Linked DNA regions of Homo sapiens: region 1 is linked to region 2. The links are contacts of gene promoters, found by promoter capture Hi-C in blood cells and fetal thymus (Javierre and others, 2016). All regions are on one chromosome and are shown on one strand. Each heading gives the region's core, a stretch centred on a gene start or on the middle of the fragment in contact. The rest is flanking DNA. Distances are from core to core; before and after follow the strand shown. Region 1 overlaps HMGN5 (high mobility group nucleosome binding domain 5). Region 2 holds the start of FTX (FTX transcript, XIST regulator).

Region 1 (6,059 bases), core at 740-3,239, 6.8 Mb after region 2:
GCTGTTTTACTAATGTGCACCAAGATGCAAGTGCATGCACAAGACATACTTTTACACAATTGATAGTTAATTTCATCCTTTTGTGTAAATTGCATCTCCTAAAAGCAAACCTTTGTAATTTTGAAATCCACCTGCTTTAGATAATGTAAAAGCCAAAAATGTGGGGGTGGGTCAAATGAAGGCGGAGCTTCATGCAATTTCGCTTTCTTGCCTTATGTTTGCCATGCAATTGTACCTATCTTATCCTCTCCACTGATTCTGGACTATTTTCTCCAAGTTTTGCATGCAAGAATTACAGCCCCCACAGTGTTTTCTTGGGGAGACCTCTTTGTTACAAAGTCAATGCTTTATTCTAAGAAACTGGCCGCCGATTTTAAAACTTCCCGCCACTACCTGCTTTAAGGTTGCTGTCAGCTCTGGAAAACAGCAAGACCTACTGCACAAGTATAGAAAAGCACAGTGGCGGGAATCTCAGGAAGGGGGGATGGTGATTAGAAACAGTTGTTTTCCATATCTGAGCAGCCCTTTAGCCTGAGAATTATCAAGCTATTGCACGATTCAGACAGCCACAGAGCACGGGGGAATTTCAGTATTATTCCTATGTTTTAGGAATAAGGAAGGCGGAGTTGTTTATAGGAATAATCCAAAAACAATCATAATGTCTTAGCATAGTGTTATACGGTTTTACCAAGCAATGAAACAGCGTTCGATTTCACTTCTAGGGGACTAAGAAAAAAACGCCGAGCGTGAACTTGTTTCCTGTCTGCGAGGAGCCAGGAATTGTGAAGTGAGGGTTTGCAGAAGACCTGTGGAGCTCGAAAGGCTCAGATCAATTCTGCACTACTAAAGTGAACAAATCCATGCTACCCCAACATCAGCAAGTTTATCCGACGCTGTCTCCTTATAATCTTCCCATCTTTAGCTAAAGAGCTTGGAAAGGTCCAGCTTTCTCACCCCTAAAGTTTCTAATTACAGCGGTGAATCTCTGTTCTCTAGGACAGTTTGAAGTCTGCGCCGCCTAATGGCACAGGATTACCATTGCATAGCCATCTGGCCTGACAAGAAGTGGAGGAGGAGGGAAGGAAAAAAAAAAAAGAAAAAAGAAAACGGGAAGAACAAAGGCAAATACAGGAGAAAGCCATGGCTTTCGTTCCCCAGACGGGACGGTTCCCCGAGAAAAGCCGGTGGCAGAGGAGGAAACTGAAGTATGGTTGGGAGAAGTGTTCTCCAATAGGGTAAGCGGAGGAAGGGGGTTGGGGTAGGAAGCGACAGCCCAGCGCTATGGCTGTTTGTAATTCAGCATGGAGACACCTTTCAAGAGATTCTCTCCTTAAACAGAACACTCCAAAAGTGAACTACCAGTTGCATGCAAGACCATCCTAAACCTTACACCGACTGCTCTTTGCCCTTCTACCCCTTTCCGTTTCATTACATCACAAAATGGAAGAAGCCAAAAAGCTTTAAAAAAAACCAAACAAACAAATAAATTCTTCCTATTAGGAAATAGGTAACTCAGCAGCTCATTCCCCGTCTGTCTTTCCATTTCACTTACCTTTCTTTTGGGCATTGTTGTAGCTCTCTATAGGAGATCTTAGTCAGCAGAAAAAAAGCCGAAGGCAGTCACTGCCTGACTGCTCCAAGAGCAAATGAGTTTTCAATGAACTAACTGCAGCACGACCTGTACTCTCCTCTGGAAAAAAAAAAAATCCCTCGTTATTGGCAACATTAAACACGCCAAGACGCAACCAAACTACGTGAATGGTTAACCGGAGTGGGAGCCACATTGGAGTGACAGGCTCTCAGGCCAATAAGAAGAGGCAGCCGGCTTTGAGGGGCGTGGCCCGCGAACTTGCCCGAAGCCCTCGTTCCCTGTCGGCTCTAACCGCTGGTGTAGTGGCGGAGCACGCGAACTTAGCAAGGGCTAAGCGATCAGGAATAAGAACAGCAGGAAAGCCAGAGCTGACTTGATCAGTTTTTTTTTCTTTTATGTTATAATGACAGGCGAAAGCCACAACAGTTGCTTTCTTCACAGCCTCCAAACCCGCCACCCTTCCCTATTCCTAGCGGGATAAGTGCTTTTAAGACCAGTTGAGTCTGGGCTCCGGTCTTTCCCTGCCACCTTTGGCGGGATGGTGTTGAACCGACAAGAACATTCATTCAGAAAGCGCAAAAGAGTGGAGATGTTTCTCTGGTGTGGGAACATCCTGCCAAAGCAGAACTGTGGTGCTGGCAAGAGGAGGGTGCCAAAATGGCGTGTTTTCCGCAGGTGTAGAGTAGCGACAAAACCGGGAGCTATACCGTTATCCCACTTGGAGGAGGTATACGAAGAATTCAGCGGGACTCCGAGGGAAATGTGTAATAGCAGAGGTCTATCCAAATGAAAAACACTGAGAATAGATTTTTAATCTGAAGGTTGCATTTAGTGAAAGGACTCAAGAAGGTGCTATCCACGAAAGTGTTTAGGACTCAGAACCTAGACTAGCATAAAGCCATTGAGGTACTCGCCTCAGGCACAAAATTTAAGCTTGTGACAAAAACCCAGGAGACTAGGATGAGGCGAGTGAGGTGAGTCACGCAAGTGCAGGGTATGATCCTGTCTTTATTTAAATTTTTGATATTTTGTTCATCATGGACTTTTTTGCAAGAATTTTGATATTTAAAAAGATTGTCTAAAAATATTAAGTATCTTCATTACTGAGTTTCTAGGCGGCCCTTTAAAATTTTTGCCAAAGGAGAATGTCTCCATAGCGTCACTCTAGTCCCAGCCATATTTAGGTGACTTTCGACTGTAAGAGAGGCTTATAGGTGCCTTTCAGTGTCAGTTTCTGAGACCTAAAGTTTTCAGGGTTGAGGTGGAGATTGATGAATAAATTACTTGGGAATAAATATGATTAAAATAGAGGATCTAATTCCCCACCGCCCTTTCTCAGAGGCGCCTTGATGTGGTTGTTGTAAGAGCTACCTGTGTATAAAAGTGCTCCCAAACAACAACCCAAATCCTTATCCTGGAGGGTTAATCAAAAAAGAAATTTAACCTTTTGAACAGTTACTTTAGGAAGAATTCATTTGTGTTTATGTAGGTTAAAAAATTTGGAATAATCAGTTTAAGAGATAAACACTGTATCTGCTACAGAGTGCCAAACCATCCCTTCAAGCAAAAATACAGCCTAACAGAATAACCCATTGTAATTATTATATTTACTATTGCTATATTATTTTTATTTTGTTATATATTTATATCATTATTATTATTATTATTGCCCATTCTTCCCCAGCACTGATAGTATGGAATTACATAGATCAGGTAGAATGAGCCTGCGTGACTGCTGCTCAGTTTCCTTCCCCCAACTTCATACTGCATTCTAATTCAAGTAAGTAAATCAGAAAGATATTTAAATTGCTTCCTTCGTCCACAGTTATTGGGATAATCCCTAGATGTTCCTGATGTCACTTTTTGCCCTTATGGTAAAAGCATTCCTGGGTGAACTTAAATATGTTTCAATCATTTTATTCTCCAACAGTTAGAAGATAAGCATAAAAATTGATTTTAATATAAGGATTGCCTCATAAGGATAAGAAGAAAAATGAAGGGAATGAAAATGTGTCAGCAGTGGAATGCATCCATTCAACAAATTCTTATTTAGCATTATTTTGTGAGTCGGATTTTGTTTTTGTAGACTAGCTTATGAAAATGCGAAACCCTGTAGCATGCAAAGTTGCATTACACAGCTTCTGTCTTTAAGGAATTTTATAATTTTGTAGGATTGAGCAAACAGATGCATACCTATTTACAAATCAAAGCTGATTGTATTATCTGAATGGTGCAATCTAAATTCAATAATAAAACAGGAGGGAAGGATCTTTTAGGACTAAGGTAACTTGGCAAAGGGTTTGATTGAGGAAGTGGAATTTGGCTTGCCTGTGAACAGTTCGGTAGACTGTTACATTACAGCAAATGCAGCGGCAGGAAAAGGTTGTACTTGTTCAGGGAACATAGTGCCTAGTCCAAGTGGATTGAAACAAATTATCTTGAGGAGCCTTGGAAGGTAAAGCTTAGAGAAGCAAAGCATAATGTGCAGGTCAGTGAGCTCTAAAACTCCTCTTAAATTTGTCAGCAATTTTCTTTTTTGGCCAGTTTTTTCTTCTTGAAGGCTAACGTGTTGCAACTGTGATTTATATCTTATTAAATTGAAAAAATAGTCATGCATGCAAAAGAACATTTTCTAAGTGTGAAACATTCTTCTGTTTCTTGACCCCAATCCCCCATTTCCTCATGTTCTTCCTTCTAACCATTAACCAGAGCGGTCCTTTACATTAGCAAACCTGTTTAGGCTCTTTGCCTTTGCAGTATTATTACCTCTGACTGCAGCCCCATTCTCAAATATCTTCACCTATCAAATGTTTACCAAACTGTTTAGACCCAATCCAAATATCACCTCTTTGACAAAAGCCTTCTTCAATTATTTTAGCCCTAAGAAATTCTTCCCTGCTGTTATACTATACAATTTAGATTGTACTACTCATAGGACACAAGCAAGCTTGATTTTTCCTTTTTTTCCCAACCACTCCATCAAACTTCTTCAAATTGGGTCAAACTTGTATATACTTATTTCCTTTTGCCTAAATATTTACTCAGCACATCACACTCTACATACCTTCTGTAGAATTTACTACTTTTCCAATATATTTTTCTAAAATTGATAAATTATTCCAGAGTAAAAAGGTTATTTTTGTGTAATTGTCAAAGTGAGACTTTTTACTGGACTATTTTTTTCTAAGATTACGTTGGCTTGTTTCTCTTTTTAATTTATTAATGACTAGGAAAATTGATTGCCTGACAATTCTCCACAGAATTCCCTAATTTTACCTGGCTATTAAGCATGCCTACTACCACTCCCAAAATTTACAGGAACTGTAACGTGTCCATTTAGTAACCAGTTAAAAATGACACAGGAAGATATGAAAATTTATGGATTAAAGGCACCAACATTAAGATATATTGACAGAGAATCCAAAAGAAAATATTATGTATTTATGAGAAAAGGAATGCTAAACAGCCAAGATAAAACAGGTCTTCAAATGTTCTGTATATTCATAGTTTAAAATTATATATATATATGATTAATTAAAAGCATTCTAGATACACTACTTTGCATGCAATGGGATCTCAAAAATACTGATTGACTAGTAAGAAATACTTTATTTTCTCTGTTAAAATATCTCTAATTTTGACCTCATGCAACACCATTATTATTCCTGTTGTATTTTAATAAAATAAAAAATTGGAAAACTATATACTATTGTCAGCAAATAATGCAAGAATTCTATCATATTATTAGAATACAGTGTTTTAGATTTTTTTTGTTGGTATTTTCAGAGGGTAAAATAAATCCAAGTCTACAGTGAGCCAAATACATCAATACACTTATTTCTGAGCCTTGTTTAAGATTGATATCAGAAATTTATTTGAATTGATGATGCCACTTAGCTGAGACTGACTCTGGAAAAACTGTAATTCTGGTGACCCAAATCTTCCTATGTCCTATGTTTATTTGCAGCAGGCCAAAGACTAATAAAATACTGAATTAAAGAGTAGCCACTGATATGACAGATAGATTATTTTTCCAGTGGTAAAAGTAAATTGAGCTGCTTTCTAGGGGTAAAAGGAATATAATACATTTTATGTTTCTATTTGTAAAATTTCTACCGACTTTTAAAGTAACAATTTAAAAGAATGCTATTTTTAGGCTTTCAGACATTCAAGTTTAGCAGATACTAATAGAGATTTTCTAGTTTCAATACCCTTGGAATACAGATGAATAAACACAAGCCCAGAGAGCTTAAATGACTTGCGAAAGATCATCTATTAAAATTTAAGCAGTTGGCTGGGTGTGGTGGCTCGCGTCTGTAATCCCAGCTCTTTGGGACGCTGAGGCGGGTGGATCACCTGAGGTGAAGAGTTCGAGATCAACATGGCCAACATGGTGAAACCCCATCTCTACCAAAAATACAAAAATTAGCGGGGTGTGGTGGTGGATGCCTGTAATCTCAGCTACTTG
Region 2 (6,500 bases), core at 1,233-3,732:
AAAAGCACGCAGACCAGAACCTCGAACGTAGTAAGTGCTATTGACGTTTAATCATTATTACAGATAGAGAAATAGGCCCAGCAGCCGGGCGTGGTGGCTCACGCTTGTAATCCCAGCACTTTGGGAGGCCAAGGCGGGCGGATCACATGAGGCCGGGAGTTCGAGACCAGCCTGGCCAACATGGCAAAACCCCGTCTCTACTAAAAACACAAAAATTAGCCGGGCGTGCGCGCACCTGTAACCCCAGCTACTACTTGGGAGGCTGAGATATCAGAATCGCTTGAACCCGGGAGGCGGAGGTTGTAGTGAATTGAGATCGCGCCACCGCACTCCAGCCTGGGCGACGGAGCAAGACTCTGTCTAAAAGTAAATAAATAAATGAGCGAGAGAGAGAAATAGGCCCAGAGAAGGAAAAGGACCACCATGAAATAATAGCTAGGATTACTGGGAAAAGATGTTTTTTTCAGTTTTTAATCCTGTGCTCCTTCTAACTATGTCTGTATCTAAGTGCTAACTTACTAGTTTTAGCGATTAACAGCAAGTCTTCAGAGAGTCATGACAGTACATCTGCCTTTAAAATAGAAACTCTAATCTTCTCCCTTGACAAAACCGTGCTGAAAGTTCTACAGAAGAAAAAATAAAGGAAAGGGTGAAAGCCCAGGTTACCTTCATACCACCACTGCCATTAACTACTTTTCAATCTTTCTCCACGACAGTATGAGTCCCAGGCAGCCATAGGTCCAAATTCCAGGTTTACGGCAAAGAGTAACAAGCATTTGGAAACACATCCAAATCCTCACGCCTATGTTCTCAGGGAAGAAAATCAAGAGCTTTCGGCCAACATTAACATTGGATTCTCACACTACAACCACAGTGTTTTGCTACTCTGATGGGGTGACTGTATTCAGAGCCAAGTACAGCGACCCAAGATCGGAAAGCCAGAGAGCCCTCCGAATGCGTACTGCCCAAATGTGGCCTGTCTCCAAGTGCTCCCTTTTTACGCATTTCCTACGCACCGCCAGCTGCCGCAACCTTTTGCAGAGTCATCATCGCCTCCTCATTTTTGTACCCACTTACCGATAGGCCACTGAGAGGCTAAGATTCTGGGTTAATTTCTAGTGGATCTGGCCACAGCATAGGAGAACTCCAACTCAGGTTGATCCCTTCACTCAGCTAAAAAGGTAGTTCTCTGCAAGGCCTGCTAGCCCAAGATGGCCAAGCAAAGACAGCTTACCTCCCCCCTCGCCATTTTGCAACCTTAATTACCCGAATGCTGAGCGCCTCCCCTCCCCGGCACTCCGTCTGAAATACGCATGCGCGCCGCTTCCTCCTTACCGTTCTCCCCAACCATCCAGATGTTGTCTCAAATATGCATGAGCGCCACCTCTACCTCCCAAACGCTGGTACCAACTCCTAGCAACTTTGCGTTGTTAAATATGCCTGCGAGTCCTTCACTTCCCGACCTTCCAACCCTCCAACCCCGACGCCATTCAAGCCTTGCGCATGCGTGCCTCCCTCTCCCCACCCCCGCCCCACTGGAGCCCGTCCCCTTAACTCAGGTCTTCTCAAATACTGTAAGCTTGAGCGCCGCCCCTCGGCGCCGCGCCTCCTCATCCAGCCTCTCAAATACCCTGCGCACCGCGATAGTCCTCTCTCTTCTTGCTCCCATTTGTATACAGTATGCATGCCTGATGCTATCTGGACGTGTTTCTCGCCACAATTCTGCCCCAGTGCCCAAGGAGAGCCATTACCAGCCTTCCCTAATGCGAGTAGATGCGATAAACTAGGGAAGTTGAATCGGGGAAAGAAGGCGTTGCAGGTGATCAGAGTGAATCCCAGATCTAGATGGAATCGGTCCCAACTCCAAGGGAGGGGGCTAGAGTACCCCAGGATTCACATAAGACCGGTCAACCTGAACAAAGGCAAGGAAAACTTTCACAAACCATCGGATGAACATAATCCTAAGGCCTCGCCCTTTAAATACATCTGCTACAAATGACGAACCACAAATGTTTTAAACAGGGAACATTATGGAAAACACCGATGCTCAGGTGCCTTGACTCTAGTTAGAGGAAAGGAACCCGCATTCCTTTCACAATGGGAAGCAAATGCTCAACATCCTTTTGGAAAACTGGGGCCTGTAACGTATTCCATTTTTTCCTCCCGTGAACTGGAAAAATGCACAAATTAAGGATCTTCCTGGCCCAAGTTCCCTCCGCCGCCCTCCATGTTCTGTTCTTCCCCTACATCGTTCCTTTACCTCCTGGTTGAATTCAGTGTCGTAGCAGGAATTCTTAGAGCTGGCCGTCCCAAGATGGGGTGGAGAGAGCGGCATGAAAGAGAGAGAGAGAGAGAGACACGCCTGAATGGCAGCAGCAGGCCTTAGCGGCAATGGACAGCAGGCACAGGACCAGCTTTGCCTCGAGCCGCAACGCTGATGCCAGAAAAGGACAACCTCTCCAGAATCGCCGCAGTGTGCTTCCAGCGCATGCGCTGCTAACGCCCCTTAACCCCCCCTCCGCGCCCCGCCTCCCCCACGCGCCGCTCTCCAGCCTCTAGGAGTCTAACCCTTAGCGGTCCACCGACCTCCTTCACTTCTTTCCCAGGACGCTATCCCACTCTGCTTCTTCCACCTTTCCCCTCCCCTCGGTCACACTGGCCTCCACCATCATCCCTCCCTCAGCCCATACTTCTTTCGTCAATCCCTCTCCCATTATTCTTAGCCCACCATCTACCTTTATTTCCTCTGCTATCGTTAGTGGTCTACCCTTCAATTCTTCACTTTCCCTGCCAGTCTGCAGCCCTCTTGGGCCTCTTACTCCTCTCCTCCTATGCCTGATGTTGAAATTTGTAAAAATTACCGCAAAAATTTTTTTTTAAATAATTGTAGCCCGGGCGCGGTGGCTCACACCTGTAATCCCAGCACTTTGGGAGGCCGAGGTGGACGGAACCCTTGAGTTCAGGAGTTCGAGACCAGCTCGGGTGACATGGCGAAACCCCGTCTCTACAAATAAATACAAAAATTAGCCGGGCGTGGTGGTGCGCACCTGTACTCCCAGCTATTCAGAAGGCTGAGGTGGAAGAATCACTCGAGCCCAGGAAGTCGAGGCTACAGTGAGCTATGATTGTGCCAGCTATGATGTTGCCAGCCTGGGCAACAGAGTGAGACCCCATCTCAAAAAAAGAAAAAAAATATTTCCACACATCCTCTCCAAAGCAGCTCTCAGGGTGAGCTCAACCAGCCTGTCTTGGGCAAAGAGAACACCTTTTTGATGATGACCCACAGGGAAGATCCAGAGACAGGGAACCAGAACAAAAACTGCAAAAGTGTTCAATCAATTTGGGGGTAAGAGGCAGTAGACCACCAACATGGAAAGCTCTTTTCTTTCTATTCACAACCCTGGTATTGTCTGGACATTAAAAATGAGATTCAATGTCCTTCACTGCTTACTACAAGGCCTGTTCTTGTCTTCTGTAAGAACTCAAATATTAATTTTGAGGGAAATGGCATTATTTACTTAAGAGGCTCTGAAATAGATCCCTCTTTGGGTGTGAACTAGAAAGAATACAAAATAATATTTTGTTTCTCTTTATTATGTTTTACTTTGGTGTCTGGTTCTTATTGCTTTCTAAAAGAGCCAGTTTGGAAATACCAAAAACTGAGACCCGCAAATTCATAAATCCTAAAACTCATAAACTTATACATCACCATCCTCTCAAATTAACTTAAGAATGTTATATCAACATTATTCAGAGAAAAATGGGTTTGCATTTGTTATATAATACGCCCAAAAAATTATACAACAATGTGCATATGAAGAAGAAAAAAGAGAAATAGGCATGCATTAAATAAAAAAGAAATGCCGAAATCTCAGTGGTACAAAGAACCTCTTCTAAATTAAAATAATCATTTATTATTACACAAAAGTTAAAATATAAGAAATTTTACCCCAAATTCTACAACACTATTTTAACAAATGCTCTTATCTCTGTTATTTTTCTGTTTTAATGGTTTTATTAATATATAATTTACATATCATACAGTTAACCAACTTAAAGTGTACAATGCAATGGATTTTAGTATATTCACAGAATTATGCAGCCACCACTACAATCAATTTTAGAATATTTTCATCACCCCAAAAAGAAACTTCATACCCATTAGTATTGTCTTAGTCCATTATGTACCACTGTAACAAAATACTGCAGACTCGGCAATTTATAAAGAACAGAAATTTATTTCCTCACAGTTCTGGAGAATGGGAAGTCCAAGACTGAGGAGCTGGCATCTGACAGTGGCTTTCCTGCTACATCATCCCATGGTGGAAGGGCAAAGAGATAGAGAAAGAGAGAGTGCGCGCAAGAGGGGGCCAGAACTCATCCTTTAATAAGGAACCCACTACTGAAATAACAAACCCACTCCCTCAATAATAGCATTAAGCTATTCATAAGAGTGGTGCCCCCATGACTCAAACACCTCCCTTTAAGCCTCACCTCCCAACACCACCACATGGGGCATCAAATTTCCAACATATGAACTTTGAGAGACATATTCAAACCATAGCAAGCATCTTTGTGTTCTCTTATGATTTTTGTTCAAATATATAATGTTTTGGCTGGGCGTGGTGGCTCATGCCTGTAATCCCAGCACTTTGGGAGGCCAATGCAGGAAGATTGCCTGAGACCACAAGTTCGAAACCAGCCTTGGCAACATAGCAATACCCTGTCTCTATTTAAAAAAAAAAAAAAAAAGAGGTGGGGGCCAAGCACAGTGGCTCGCACCTGTAATCCCAGTACTTTGGGAAGCCAAGGCAGGCAGATCAGTTAAGGTCAGGAGTTCAAGACCAGCCTGGCCAACATGGTGAAACCCCGTCTCTACTAAACATGCAAAAATTAGCTGGGCGTGGTGGCGGGCACCTGTAATCCCAGCTACTCGGGAGGCTGAGGCAGCTGACTCGCTTGAACCTGGGAGGCAGAGGTTATAGTAAGCCGAGATCATGCCACTGCCCTCCAGCCTGGGTGATAGAGTGAAACTCCATCTCAAAAAAAAAAAAAAAGGAAAGAAAGAAAAAGAAAAAATGTATATATAATGTTTTAACATTAACTTTTTTTTTTTTTTGAGACAGTCTTGCTCTGTGGCCCAGGCTGGAGTGCAATGGCACGATCTCGGCTCACTGCAATCTCTGCCTCCCAGGTTCAAGCGATTCTCCTGTCTTAGCCTCCTGAGTAGCTGGGATTACAGGCGCCCGCCACCACGCCCGGCTAATTTTTGTATTCTTAGTAGAGATGGGGTTTCACCATGTTCGTCAGGCTGGTCTCGAACTCCTGACCTCGTGATCCGCCCGCCTCGGCCTCCCAAAATGCTGGGATTACAGGTGGGAGCCCTTGCACCTGGCCTAACGTTAACATTTTTTATGACACTATATTTGTGTTTGAGGCTGTGTTTTTACCATGCACAGATGAATATTCATCAGCAAACAGATTTAGTTCTGTTTCTTCCAAGGAACTTCTACTTCTACCTTCATCTCAGGCAAGGAGCTTGGTCCTAGGCTCAGCCATATGGAAATCACTACACATTACCCCAAAGGTTCAATGCATAAGAGACTCAACTTTTCCCCCACCAACACTATTTACCAATGGCACAGACAAACATCAACATTTTATAGATACAATATTGTGATGTTTTCACTGCTTTTCCATGCCCCTAATTATTAATTATCTTCACTATTTTTAATAAATGGACAACATTGCATTTTTTGAAAGTATTATAAAATTGAAATCAGCACATAATTCTTACAGATTGAGTTACTTACTCTTTCCACGTCTCTTTATTTTGAAAAACTTCCATAATGTACCATGGCCCCTTAAGAAGAGAAATTCAGGAAAAAGGCACGGGCTGGGTGCGGTGGCTCACGCCTGTAATCCCAGCACTTTGGGAGGCCGAGACAGGCAGATCACGAGGTCAGGAGTTTGAGACCAGCCTGGCAACACAGTGAAACCTCATCTCTACTAAAAATACAAAAATTAGCCGGGTATGGTGGCAGGTGCCTGTAATCCCAGCTATGCGGGAAGCTGAGGCAGGAGAATTGCTTGAACTCAGGAGGCAGAGGTTGCAGTGAGCCAAGATCGAGCCACTGCACTCCAGCCTGGGTGACAGAGCAAGACTCCATCTTGAAGAAAAAAAGAAAAAGAGACACAGCTGGTAAATCTTGAACCCTGTAAAATACTTAGAGTCCTAGGCCTACCTATTTGTCTAAACTTCCCAGTTCACAAGCCGTTCCTAAGGAGTGGTAAGGAAGAAATTTGGGAACCTCTGTTGTATCCACTCATTTTAAGCTAACATCTGAGACTTTATTTTTCTCTTTTCCCCCATCCTATACATTTCTTAGGAGACTGGGCTTCTTCTAGAGGATGTGATGATTAATTTTATATGTCAACTTGGCTGGGCCACGATGCCCAGATATTTGGTGAAACATAATTCTAGATGTTTCTGTGAGGGG

Evidence for each region. The method cuts DNA at HindIII sites, captures the fragments that hold promoters and counts their contacts. A CHiCAGO score of 5 or more calls a contact.
Region 1: a fragment that was not itself captured here is called in contact with the fragment with the promoter of FTX in region 2 in 1 of 17 cell types (fetal thymus); the score reaches 10.9 in fetal thymus.

Annotation. Positions count from the first base shown.
Region 1 is chrX:81,119,983-81,126,041 of GRCh38, forward strand. HMGN5 (high mobility group nucleosome binding domain 5) reads right to left here. Exons shown (of 7, transcript NM_030763.3): 2 at 1,553-1,690. The coding sequence starts at 1,567. Among named protein-coding and RNA genes, the nearest start is that of HMGN5, 79 kb to the right of the region's middle. RefSeq lists an enhancer at 1,970-2,199. The HindIII fragment of the contact is 1,066 bases long and covers 1,457-2,522 here.
Region 2 is chrX:74,291,092-74,297,591 of GRCh38, forward strand. It overlaps FTX (FTX transcript, XIST regulator), which reads right to left and starts at 2,483. Exons shown (of 7, transcript NR_028379.1): 1 at 2,261-2,483. It overlaps LOC124905199 (a long non-coding RNA gene), which reads right to left and starts at 1,505. Exons shown (of 2, transcript XR_007068266.1): 1 at 667-1,505. RefSeq lists enhancers at 1-155, 947-1,737. The HindIII fragment of the contact is 8,135 bases long and covers 1,578-6,500 here.